Regions from separate parts of the Homo sapiens genome. Here region 2 is linked to region 1. Evidence: promoter capture Hi-C in 16 types of primary human blood cells and fetal thymus (Javierre and others, 2016). All regions are on one chromosome and are shown on one strand. The core of a region is centred on a gene start or on the middle of the fragment in contact, and the rest is flanking DNA. Distances in the headings are between cores, read along the strand shown.

Evidence for each region. The method cuts DNA at HindIII sites, captures the fragments that hold promoters and counts their contacts. A CHiCAGO score of 5 or more calls a contact.
Region 2: a contact is called between a fragment that was not itself captured here and the fragment with the promoter of IL6ST in region 1, in 3 of 17 cell types (non-activated CD4 T cells, naive CD4 T cells and activated CD4 T cells). The highest score is 5.9, in non-activated CD4 T cells.

What each region holds. Positions count from the first base shown.
Region 1 is chr5:55,991,528-55,997,242 of GRCh38, reverse strand. It overlaps IL6ST (interleukin 6 cytokine family signal transducer), which reads left to right and starts at 2,280. Exons shown (of 17, transcript NM_002184.4): 1 at 2,280-2,459. IL6ST-DT (IL6ST divergent transcript) reads right to left here and starts at 2,076. Exons shown (of 2, transcript NR_102755.1): 1 at 1,689-2,076. RefSeq lists an enhancer at 1,727-2,238, cis regulatory regions at 1,827-2,500, 1,194-3,512 and a silencer at 2,070-2,549. The HindIII fragment of the contact is 8,053 bases long and covers 1-5,715 here.
Region 2 is chr5:56,095,966-56,101,680 of GRCh38, reverse strand. ANKRD55 (ankyrin repeat domain 55) reads left to right here. Exons shown (of 12, transcript NM_024669.3): 12 at 1,377-2,001. The coding sequence ends at 1,498. Among named protein-coding and RNA genes, the nearest start is that of IL6ST-DT, 100 kb to the right of the region's middle. The HindIII fragment of the contact is 7,933 bases long and covers 1-5,715 here.

The DNA.
Region 1 (5,715 bases), core at 1,031-3,530:
TATACTACTTTCCCCTACTTACCTTTGCATTTTGACAAGGCTTTCTAGTAACAAATCCTTAATCTGAAATTCGTAATTTCAAGGCCAATACTCTACAGAGGTATCTGCAAAGTCATGTAATTCCAGCACAGCAGAGGTCTTCCGTCCTGTTGCTCTGAAAAATACTTCTCCAATATTGATTCATCCTTTTGGCCTCAGACTTTAACTACTCCCATAAAATGTGAGTTTCTTGGGAGCAGGACCTGAGCTGAGCCAATAAAAAGACACCCATAAAAGCACTAACTCAGTCATTTGTTTTCCTAATGGTGCCAAGGCAGGCTGGTGTGTTGTGACATATCAATCCACTTCTGTGTACCTGCCCTTCCCCGTCCAGCAAAATATCATCATTTTTAATATATGTTGTGATACTAAAATATTTCAGAAGTGTTGACCGAGTAGACATTCAATAATGATTATAGCTGATACTTACAGAGCACCTACTATGTGCCAAACACTGTATGTATTTTAACTCATTTAATCCTTGCAACAATCCTGTTAGGTTGGTATTGTTATTCTCATTTTGCAGATGAAGAAATTTGAAAAGACTTGCCCAAGGTCACAGAGATGAGAAATAGAGGCATCAGCATTTAAACCTAGGCAATCTAGAACCAGAGGGTACATTTAACCACTATACATCTCCCCTAAATACATCTTTGCATCACACCTGTTATCTCAGCACTTTGGGAGGCCACTAAGGCCGGAGGATCGTTTGTTGCCAGCAGTTCAAGACCAGCCGGGTCAGCATACCAAAATCTTGTCTCTCCAAAAATTTTAAAAATTGGCCAGGTATTGTAGGGGCACCTGTAGTCTGAGATACTTGGGAGGTTGAGGTGGGAGGATCGCTAGAGCCCAGGAATTTGAACGTGCGGTGAGCATGATCCAGCCACTGCACTCCAGCCTGGGTGACAGAGTGAGACTGTGAACAACAACAAAAAAATCAAGTTTCCTGGATCTATACAAAATTTTCAATTTAACAAATTTTTATAAAAATTTGTTTTAAAATAAACACCCCTCTAAATGGCAAAGCTAGAACAGAATCTGGTCACAATCTATAGGTTAGATATAGGATGACAGGGAGGAGCAAGAGCTGAACACATCAGCTGCAGCACCATCTACTTTGCCTGCGACTCCGTTAGCAGGCCCACTTTGCCCTTTTATAAATTATCTGATCAACAACTAAGAGATTAAAATTCGATCTATGTTTTACTCTATCTGAATCCTCAATATAATGAAGAACTTTATAATTGTTAATTTATGGATATAATTTAAGTTCATTAAACCATTATTTCCTTCCTATATCCTCTCATTCTTCCACAAAAACCTCTACCTTTGGGTGTTTACTTTTACAGACACCCACGCACACACCCCACACGCACGCACGCACATGCCTTATCTTTTAACTCAAGATTCTCATCTTCCTTTGGGGAGAAACAAACATCATGAGCCTTGAGGTCCATTTTCTGAGGGAAAGGGGGGGGCGGAGGCGGGATGAATAGGTTTTTACCCGGTATTTTTTATCATAAACGGGGAGGTACAAACCGCAAAGAAACACTAGTCGCTTGGTGGGCCACCACCTCTGGGGCTCACTGATCAATCGCACCCAAACTCATTTACTAATTTAAAAAAGTACTGTGGCAAGGCTCGTTTACGTAAGTCTTGGAGAGAAGCCGCCGCCACAATCTGCCGCAGTCTCGTGCGGAGTCACGGCCACCGAGCTCTTCACTTTCCCCAAGAGGCTCCCACGCCTTCCCCATCCCCAAGGGAGCTAGGCGGTCCCTCGCGGCTCTGAGTCCCTCGGGGAAGGCCGCGAAGAGAGGCCGCAGGCGCCCTGGCGAGAAGGGAGGGCGGGGGCAGCGGGCGGCGGGCAGCACCCGGGCTCCAGTTCATGACCCCGTTATTCCACAGAAAAATGGAACATTCCGCTCTTTCCGCCCACAGAGGGGAGGTGGGGGGAACCCTTCGATCTAGTCTGGGAGAGGCGACGCGGACGCAGCCACCGGAATCCGGGACGCGAAGAGCCGCGTTACGGGAATCGCTACCCCTCGGAGTCCCGCCCCCTCGTCGACAGGCGGCCACTGGACCAATGCCTGGGCGCAAAGGGTCTCTCAGGGGCCAATCAGCGCCTAGGTCCCGGTAGGGGGCGGGGCGCAGCGTTGGCCGGCCGGGGGCGCAGCTGGGCGGGATTGGGGAGCGCCCCGCCCCGCCGCGGGACTGGGGTGGCGCGCTACCTCTGCGGAGAAGGATCTGACAGTGTTCCGGAGCCGGGGCGAGCAGCCAAAAGGCCCGCGGAGTCGCGCTGGGCCGCCCCGGCGCAGCTGAACCGGGGGCCGCGCCTGCCAGGCCGACGGGTCTGGCCCAGCCTGGCGCCAAGGGGTTCGTGCGCTGTGGAGACGCGGAGGGTCGAGGCGGCGCGGCCTGAGGTGAGGAGGGGCCGGGTGCTGGGTCGCGTAGCTGGAGTTAGAGTGTCGGTGGTTTCGGACGGGCTATCTGGCACTCGAGGAGACCTCCCTTCCCCCTGAGAGCAGCGCCCGGAACTTGTCAGCCCAGCCTGGAAATCCCCACATTCCTTCCCCTTCCTGCTCCCGGACCTCCGAATTCTACTTCCACAACTTTGTCACCTCGATTATCGCAGCCCTGAGTACAAACTTCACCCAGGCGCACGCACGCACCCCTCTTAACGCCCGCCCCGCAGAACGCCCTTCAAGAACAAACCCCCCTTTTTGTTACCAGATCCCACGTTTTTCCCAATCCCCTTTTCATCTCCCCTGAAATTCTATTCGCTCCGCACTTGTCTTCATTCTCGAGGTGGATTTCCCTTCCCCAAAGCCGTTTTTTCATCTTGAAATCGTAACGTTTCAGCTTTGTTGAAAGTTCACAATGCTTATAAACACTATTAACGTTTCTTTCCTTCTTTTGATCTTTTCTATTAATAATTATCATTCCTAACGAATTCCACATCTCACTGTATCCCAAGGAGAACAAATCAGTTTTTAAAATTTTACCTCCTCCGACCTAAACTTTTGAAGATAGTGCAGGAAGCAAGGGTCTGTTCTTCAGTGGATGAACAGCATTTTATTTCATAATCCGAAACTGAAAAAAAAAAAAAATCACAGGTTAAAAATAAGACGTCACCTTTTTTTTTTTTTTTTTTTTTTGCCTTCAGAAGGAAACGCATTTTGGCTTAGTTTGTGAAGTATTTCAACAATTATACTGCCTTAAAATAACTAGTTATTAGAATGCCAGGGTGAATTTTCTGAAAGATTGTGGTATTTGCTTTTGACAGTGCTGTAAACAAACCCTTTAAACTGTGTATGACTGCCAGCTTCAAGTTGGAACAACTCTTAATTTGAAATTACGGACTCAGATCATCAGTTTAGCTGTGTGCCATTATGTTAATTTCTTAAATTCATGTTAATTCCTATTTGGAAGTATTTTTGAACTATGAACTGAAATATTACATTTATAGAACCAACTTGCTATTAAATTGTGCTTTCCAACTATTTCTCTTTAGGGATAATCTTGAACGTTTGTTTTTAATCTTGAGTGAAAGAAAAAAATTACAGGAAGGAGAAAGTGTCAAAAAGGACAGACTGTAGTGGGATTTTTTTCTTATTTTAAGTATGTATTGACAATACCAGTTTAATTTTCTCACAGGCAATTTAGATTATTATAAATACTGCTGCCACCTAATTTAATATAATATAGTCTTACGTAACTAAAAATGTTGTTCTCACTCTTATTTGTGAATTGCAGTATTTTCAATTTATTTAAATTTGTTTCCAAGGCTTTGCACTTCAGTTCAGTGTTAGGGCGAAAGTTAAATACATGTGAAGTAGGTGTTAAAATGTCCCCTTTATAGAGAAGGAAACAGGAGTCTCGCTGAAAACTAGATCTGTGTGACTCCAAATCCTGTGCTCTGAATCATTTTGTCATGTTGACACGTTTCTCATAAAAACCCCAGTGCCACAATTTGGTTTGGGAACTTAAGGGCAACCCATAAATCCTCTACAGTGGCAGGGAGGGATTCCCCGCTCCCTCCTTTCAGAGCTGCTCATTTTAATGGGAGTCAGAATTCTCTGGCCCTAATACATTTGCAGCTTGGCTCCTAGAGAAGCATGGAATGTTCTCACAGCTTCTCCGTTTCTTTGATTGCAAAGGCAGAATGATCAGAGTTGAGGTTCCTATTGTGCTTTATTATTTTACACAGCAAATACTAAGCAATTACTACCTGCTGTACGAACTCACAAAGGTGCAGGAGATGTAATCAGGACCTTCAAAGAGTTTATAATAATTGGATTGACAAACTTATACGAAAAAAACTACAAGGATGCAAAGCAGTTTTAATTAAATGCAGAGTGATGCAGAAAATCCTGTAGATATTAAAATTAGGGAATGATCGTTTAAGGATTGGAGTGAGCATTTAAGGATTGGAATGAGCAAAGGATTTACCAGAAGTTGGCCTTGAAACCTGGGTAGGATTTGGATAAAGGGAAAAATGAAGACAGCCCATTAATAATAGCGAATGGAGGACAAAATGTAGAATGGAGAATATAGAACATAATATAGGACTAGCTTGTGGAAAGGATCAGCAGTAACTAAGGTCTATTAATTAAAACAGGCAATATATTTAGTGCTTATGTTGTGCCAGTTGCTGTTTTGAGCACTTTGCCCATATTAAGGCATTTAATCTTCATAATATTATGAAGTAGGTCTAATAATAATAGGATAAAATCCTCTTTTTACACATAGGGAAACCCAGGCACAAGAAGGTTAATTAATTTGCCCAGCTAAGTGGTAGATCTAAAGGTCATACATAGACAGCCTGGCTTCAGAATCTGACCTCTTAACCATGATACATCCTGCGTCTCCATACAGTACGCTTGAGCGACAGCGAGTAGATAGAAAATAAGATCATACCAGAAAGTCTATAAAAACCCACCCTTAATTGTCCACCAGGTGCCTCAAACTATGGTAGATTCTGAGGATATCAAGATATGTGAAACAATTACTGTGCAGTGTTCTGAGTCCTGTTAGGGAATGATGTAAGAGTACACTGACAGCAAAGATGTTTGAAGTGGGGGGAAATTCCATATAAGAGATGATACTTCAAAAGCAGTTTGTAGTGCACAGCAGAGTCAGGAAAGACATTGGAATAATATATGTAGAAGCACAGACTGAAAGAACAAGGTATGTTAGAGGAAGTCTAGTGGTTTGCTGAGTCTACAGGGATGGTTAGTAGGGAGTGATGAAAGATAAGACCGAATTATAAATGGCATGGTGTGGTCAAGCAAAATGAGGAGCTTAAGTATTTGCTTTGCAGTTTGGAAACTACAAGAATAATTTCAGCATTATTGGAGTAAAAAAGCCAGATTGCTTGCAATTGCAAGCAGTTCTCTCTAGAAGTATAGTAGTAAGGTAGCTTGAGGGAGGAGTCTGAGGAAAGGATTTTTTTTTTTTTTTAGAATAGAGAAACTTGAGTATTGGAAAAGATAGATTGGATAGGCACATCAAAGCCAAAATTTTAGGTTCTTAAATAGTTAGAATATTTGGCATTATTATTCACCCTTTAAAAAGCTGTTGAGGAGAAGAATGACAGGTTTAAAGTTGTGTTGTAGAGAGAGTGATCCACCAACAATGTTCAGAATGCTTGGTGGGGAGGAAAGAGACTGGAAGCAG
Region 2 (5,715 bases), core at 2,370-4,869, 100 kb before region 1:
AAACTTTAGTGTGCCTAAGTATTACCTGGGGTGTTTGTTGTGAAGTAGATTCCTGGGTCCCCCACCCAGAGATTCTGAGTTTGAATATTCTCATATCTATACTCTGAAGCATAATAATAATAAAGCAAGTTTTATTATTATTCCCATTGTAGAGCCAGGAACAAAACTACAGGACACTGAGTCTACTGCCTCATGAAATAAGCAATACTTACTGGATTCTATTTTCTTTTTTTCTTCCAATTGCACCCCACTGCATTTATCACAGACAAACACACACACACACAGCCCCTCCACATCCTCCTAAGTGCAGGTTAGACGATTTAGGAGCTGTCCTATTTCAGATAAGTTTCTCAACCTTTCTGTACTTTAGTTTCCTCACCGTCCATAACAATAGTGCTATTCTAATAAGATTTATCGGAGTACTAAATGAGATAACATATGTAAAACACTTGGCACACTGTTTGCATAGAGTATATATCCAGTATGTCTTTCTCCCCTAGGCTAGGGTTTGAAGGAGACAAACCAAGAGCTCTAGAACTCTTTAGGTAAAAACAATGAAAAATAGGGTCTTAGTACAACTCTGTCTTTTGGCAGATAAGGAAACTAAGAGGTAGAGGGATATGTCCAAGGTCACACAGAGAGTTAGTAGCAGAAACCAAGACCTCTTCCTTGACAGATCAGTTCCTCTGCCCTTTACAGATGTGTGTAAAGTGAACGTTTTGGATGGTGTCAATTCTATCATTGAATGAAATTCAAGCCCGAACCTGTCTTTAAGCAGAACTGTAGCCACAAAAACATCTAGTTAAGGAAAGAGCCACTCAGTCTTGAATGCTGTTGGAGCTTGGAGAAGCCGAAGAGAGGTTTTCTTTGGCAGGGCCCAAGAGCTTTGCTTTTCACAGTTAAGTTTCAGGAGAGAAGGAAAGATAAAGATCTTTGATCAACTTAGCTCTACAAAAAAGAAATGAAAGGGCCCACAGTGCTTTTCTTAAAAGAAGCCTGAGAGCCTTTTGAGGTTTGCATAAAAGCACAGTACAAATGTCTTGGGCCTTCTTTAGAACCTTGTGAGCAGTTTTTGAACATCAACAGCTACTCCACTCCAAGGAAGAGCTCTGCCAGGCACACACAGCCCAATCATGTTTGATCACACTTGGTACAGTCTTCTATGTGTGCATATTTGAAATCCCAGACTTCATGCAGCAAGCCTGAACAGATATATATACAAGATATACATACACAGCTTCTCTCTGCAGTCTAGCTCTCACCAAGACACACTTCTTAGAAATGCCTCGACTCCTAAAACACAATACAATTCTCCTGCCGCCTTCCTGTTAGAGAAGCAAATCTTGAAAGTCTCTTGTTCTATTCTTTCTTCCCAGTTCTATCTGGAGAACCTCTGCGGACAAACCGAGTGCTTCCTGCAATTCCAAGTCAACGAAGACACAGCACAGCAGCAGAAGAGAGTGAACATTCTGCCAACCCCACCAGTGATGAAAATTAACTGTGGGCCACTCGCTGCAGAAATGTAGATGAATATGTATTTTCAACTCTCAAAGGACAAGATTACTCCAGTTTGTAAGAACGAAGACCAATTTAGTAAGCTGCATTCTATAAGCCATCAGTTTTATAACTCGAAATTCTTTATTCCAAATAAAGATACTCCCTAAATAAGCACTTAGAATATTTGGGTGTGCATATTAAGTCTGTGAATTTCTGTGACTTCCACATGCCAAAATTAAAAGACAAAATATGTTATCAGTAGGAAAACTGAGCTATGTTTGGTTTGCTTTGTGGCATGTGCACTGTTTTTTTGTTATTGTTCTTTGGTTGTTTTTTTGCTGAATGATTTTATGTTTTGGGAAAAAAAGTACGCTTTGCTGAATAAAAGCAAAAAACAAAACAAAAAAAAAACCACATCCCAGACAAACATGTCTTCACATTTATTGTCATTCTAACTTGAACTAATGAAACCTATTTAAAAATAAATTCCTATGATCAGTCACAGTTTACGGCTTTTAAATGTACAATCTTCTGCAAAATATTTTTTAACATTGTCAGTTCCTGGCTACAGCCCAAGTCACTTGACAATGTTTATCTCTCTTCTTTGTTATTTAATTATTTCCATATGTCATCATTTTCAGATATGATTGATTGTGCCAACAGGGAGAAGTCATGTGATTTGGAAAGATCTACATCCTGGCCCAACAGAGTTGAATAGGCAGTTCTCACACATTTCTCAAATACTCTACATATTTAACTATTTTTCTGTTTCAAAATAATGGTCTCTTGCCTACTCAAGACTTTCGCAAACTTAAGACTTAGCAAAGTTTTGAATGACTACAACTAACTGCGGATCTTACTAAGATAATTATGTGTTGTTTGGATTGATTTGTGCTAGGGGTCTGCATAAAGTTCAAGGCTTAGCCACATAAGATGATGGCCACTCTATGTTATTTGGGAGCCTAGATATTATTTTGTGAATATCTCAAGTACCTGTATAACATTCACCACTTTATATTAGTAGTATTTGTTTGGAAAGGTTAGACTATACCATTAACTAGATAGACACTCCTCTGGGGCCAAATCACAATCCTTTGGCTTTGCACTTCTAGAAATTTATACAATGCCTGGCACAAAGTAGGCACTTGATCATTTCATTTTTTTTCAGGAAGGAAGGAAGTAGAGAGGCAAAGAGGGAGTTGGCAAGGAAGGGGGATGTAGAAAGCAATCATAAAAGATGTCATTAGTCCACAATCTCTTTTTTTTCTTTTTTAAGATGGAGTCTCCCTCTGTCGCCCAGGCTGGAGTGCAGTGGCGCAATCTCAGCTCACTGCCACCTCTGCCTGCTGGGTTCAAGGGATTCTCCTGTCTCAGCCTCCCGAGTAGCTGGGATTACAGGCACACGCTACCATGCCCGGCTAATTTTTTTGTATTTTTAATAGAGACAGGTTTTGCCATGTTGGCCAGGCTGGTCTCGAACTCTTGACCTCAGGTGATCCACCCACCTTGGCCTCCCAAAGTGCTGGGATTACAGGCCTGAGCCACCACACCCAGCCTAGTCCACAATCTCTTTTTGACGATGATAGTTGCATGAATCAGAGATTGTAAAGGAGAAAGTGTACGGATCAGCCTTCCAAGCTGGGCAGTAGCTAGAGGGAAAGAAAGTCCTGTTACAAACAGAAGGACTTCAGGACATAGCTTCTGAAGAATTTTCCTTTTGTGTTGTTTTGTTTTGTTTGTGGGCTGTTCTCATCTTTGAAGAGTCATTCTTTAAGCATCAACCTGTTAGGTTGTTTGGCATCAGACTGTTAAGTTGTTCAGCTGTGTCACAGGCTACTTCTGAATCCATGTCCATCCACAAGTAGATTACCTAGCCCTACACTGCCTGCATCAGTCAGGGTAGGCTAGCTTCCACTTTAACAATAAACAACCTCCAAATCTCACTGGCTGACACGGTTTGTTTCTTATTCACAATACATGTCTCATACCAGCCGGCAGAGTTGGCTGATGTAGATTCCATTTCAATATGTTCTTCTTTGGTGACCAAACCAGAGGAAATGAGAGGTGAATCTCATTATTTACTCTCACATTTCATTTGCCAAGTCAAACTGTGTGGACATGCCTAACTTCAAAAGAAGTAAAGAAATGTATTCTGACCGTGCACGGTGGCTCACGGCTGTAATCTCAGCACTTTAGGAGGCCGAGGTGGGCGGATCACGAGGTCAAGAGATCGAGACCATCCTGGCTAACACGGCGAAACCCCGTCTTTACTAAATACACAAAAAATTAGCCGGGCGTAGTGGCGGGCGCCTGTATTCCCAGCTACTCAGGAGGCTGAGGCAGAAGAATGGCGTGAACCCAGGGGGCGGAGCTTGCAGTGAGCCAAGATCGCACCACTGCACTCCAGCCTGGGCGACAGAGTCTCAAAAAAAAAAAAAAAGTTAGCTGGGCGTGGTGGCGCTCGGGAGGCTGAGGCAGGAGAATCGCTTGAACCCGGGAGATTGCGCCACTGCACTCCAGCCTGGTGACAGACCGAGACTCCGTCTCAAAAAGAAAGAAAAGTGAGGTCTCTCTAGTCCCATAATTCACATATATAATCCCCAAACCATCATTTTCCTGTTCCAGAAAATTCATTCAAATTTCATAGTGTGGTATACCCTGGGCAAAGCCTTCTTCCTGAATTTGTTTATTGGGTTTGTACATCTACACAGGCAATTTGTGGAAAGTGCCCACCAACTCAGTACTTTGTGCTAAACCAGTTAGAGTTGTTGGAAGTTAGGGTTGCTGATTTTTTTTCATTTTTCTTAGTTCCCTTTGGTAATCACCTGGTTTAACATAGGTGTTATTTCTTCCAGTAAACACTGAATTCCAATGTTCTCATCTTGCTGGAAGTAAACCAATATAAATAGATTGCTGTGGCTCCAGCTTATTATCCGTTTCAGCTCTACCACAGCACAACTTGGCACTCAGTCTCATTTTAGAAAACCCCACCATGATGAGAAATATGCACATGCTCCTCATGTTATGATGGAATTATGTCCCAACAAACCCATTGTAAGGTGAAAATAGCGTTGTCGATTTTTTTTTTTTTTAATTTTTTGAGACAGGTCTCACTCTGTCACCCAGGCTGGAGTGCAGTGGTGTGATCATGGCTCATTACAGCCTCAACTTCCCAGGCTCAGGTGATTCCCCAAACTCAGCCTCCCAAGTAGCTGGGACTACAAGGTGTACACCACCACATCTAGCTACTTTTTTATATTTTTAGTAGAGATGAAGTTTTGCCATGTTGCCCAGGCTGGTCTCAAACTCCTGGGCTCAAGCAATCCTCCCTCCTCGGCCTCCCAAAGTGCTGGGATTACAGGCATAAGCCACCACGCCCAGCCCAAAAATACATTTAACGCACTTAACCTACCAAACATCATAGCTTATCCTAGCCTACCTTTAATGTGCTCAGAACACTCATAATAGCCTACAGCAGAACAAAATTATCTAACACAAAGCCTACGTTATAACAGTGTTGACTATCTCATGTAATTTATTAAATACTATACTGAAAGTGAAAAACAGAATGATTGTATAGGTGCTTGAAGTAAAGTCAAAAAATCATAAGTTGAATGATCATAAGTCAAGGACCATCTGTAATGCCTTCCAGAAAGACAATCATAAGCATTAATTTTACTTTTGCCTCTACCTTTTTTTTTTTTTTTTTTTTTTGAAATTTACAAATGCATGTCTCTAAGCATGTGCATCCTGGCATTTTAAAGGTAATCTTTTGAAAACAACCTTTTGGAATCCACTCTAGGTTTAAATGGGGTAACTAAGAAGGAACATATTTTACCTTAGCATAAAATATAATGCCCAAATCAAAAACTAAATTAATAAAGAAACATGATGGCACCTCTCACATGTAGTAGTGAGACTCTCTGATGGTCTTCAAGGGAAAAATGATATTTTGAAATCAGAGAATTCTGTTAGAATCACATATTTCCTAGACATTGACAAAGAAATGTAAGTACTAGTGGATGAAGACTGTCAACAAACTGTATGTTCCAATAGAAACTATAGTCTTTCAAAGCAAATGCCTTTGTATTCTGACCCCATTCCAGTCTAACCCTGGTTTTTTTGGACAGCTGAATGAGTTTTTGAAAGCTGAACAGTTTCCATTCAGTATGTCACACCAGCACAATTGTCACTAGAGAGACAAAGGTAGTTTTCACA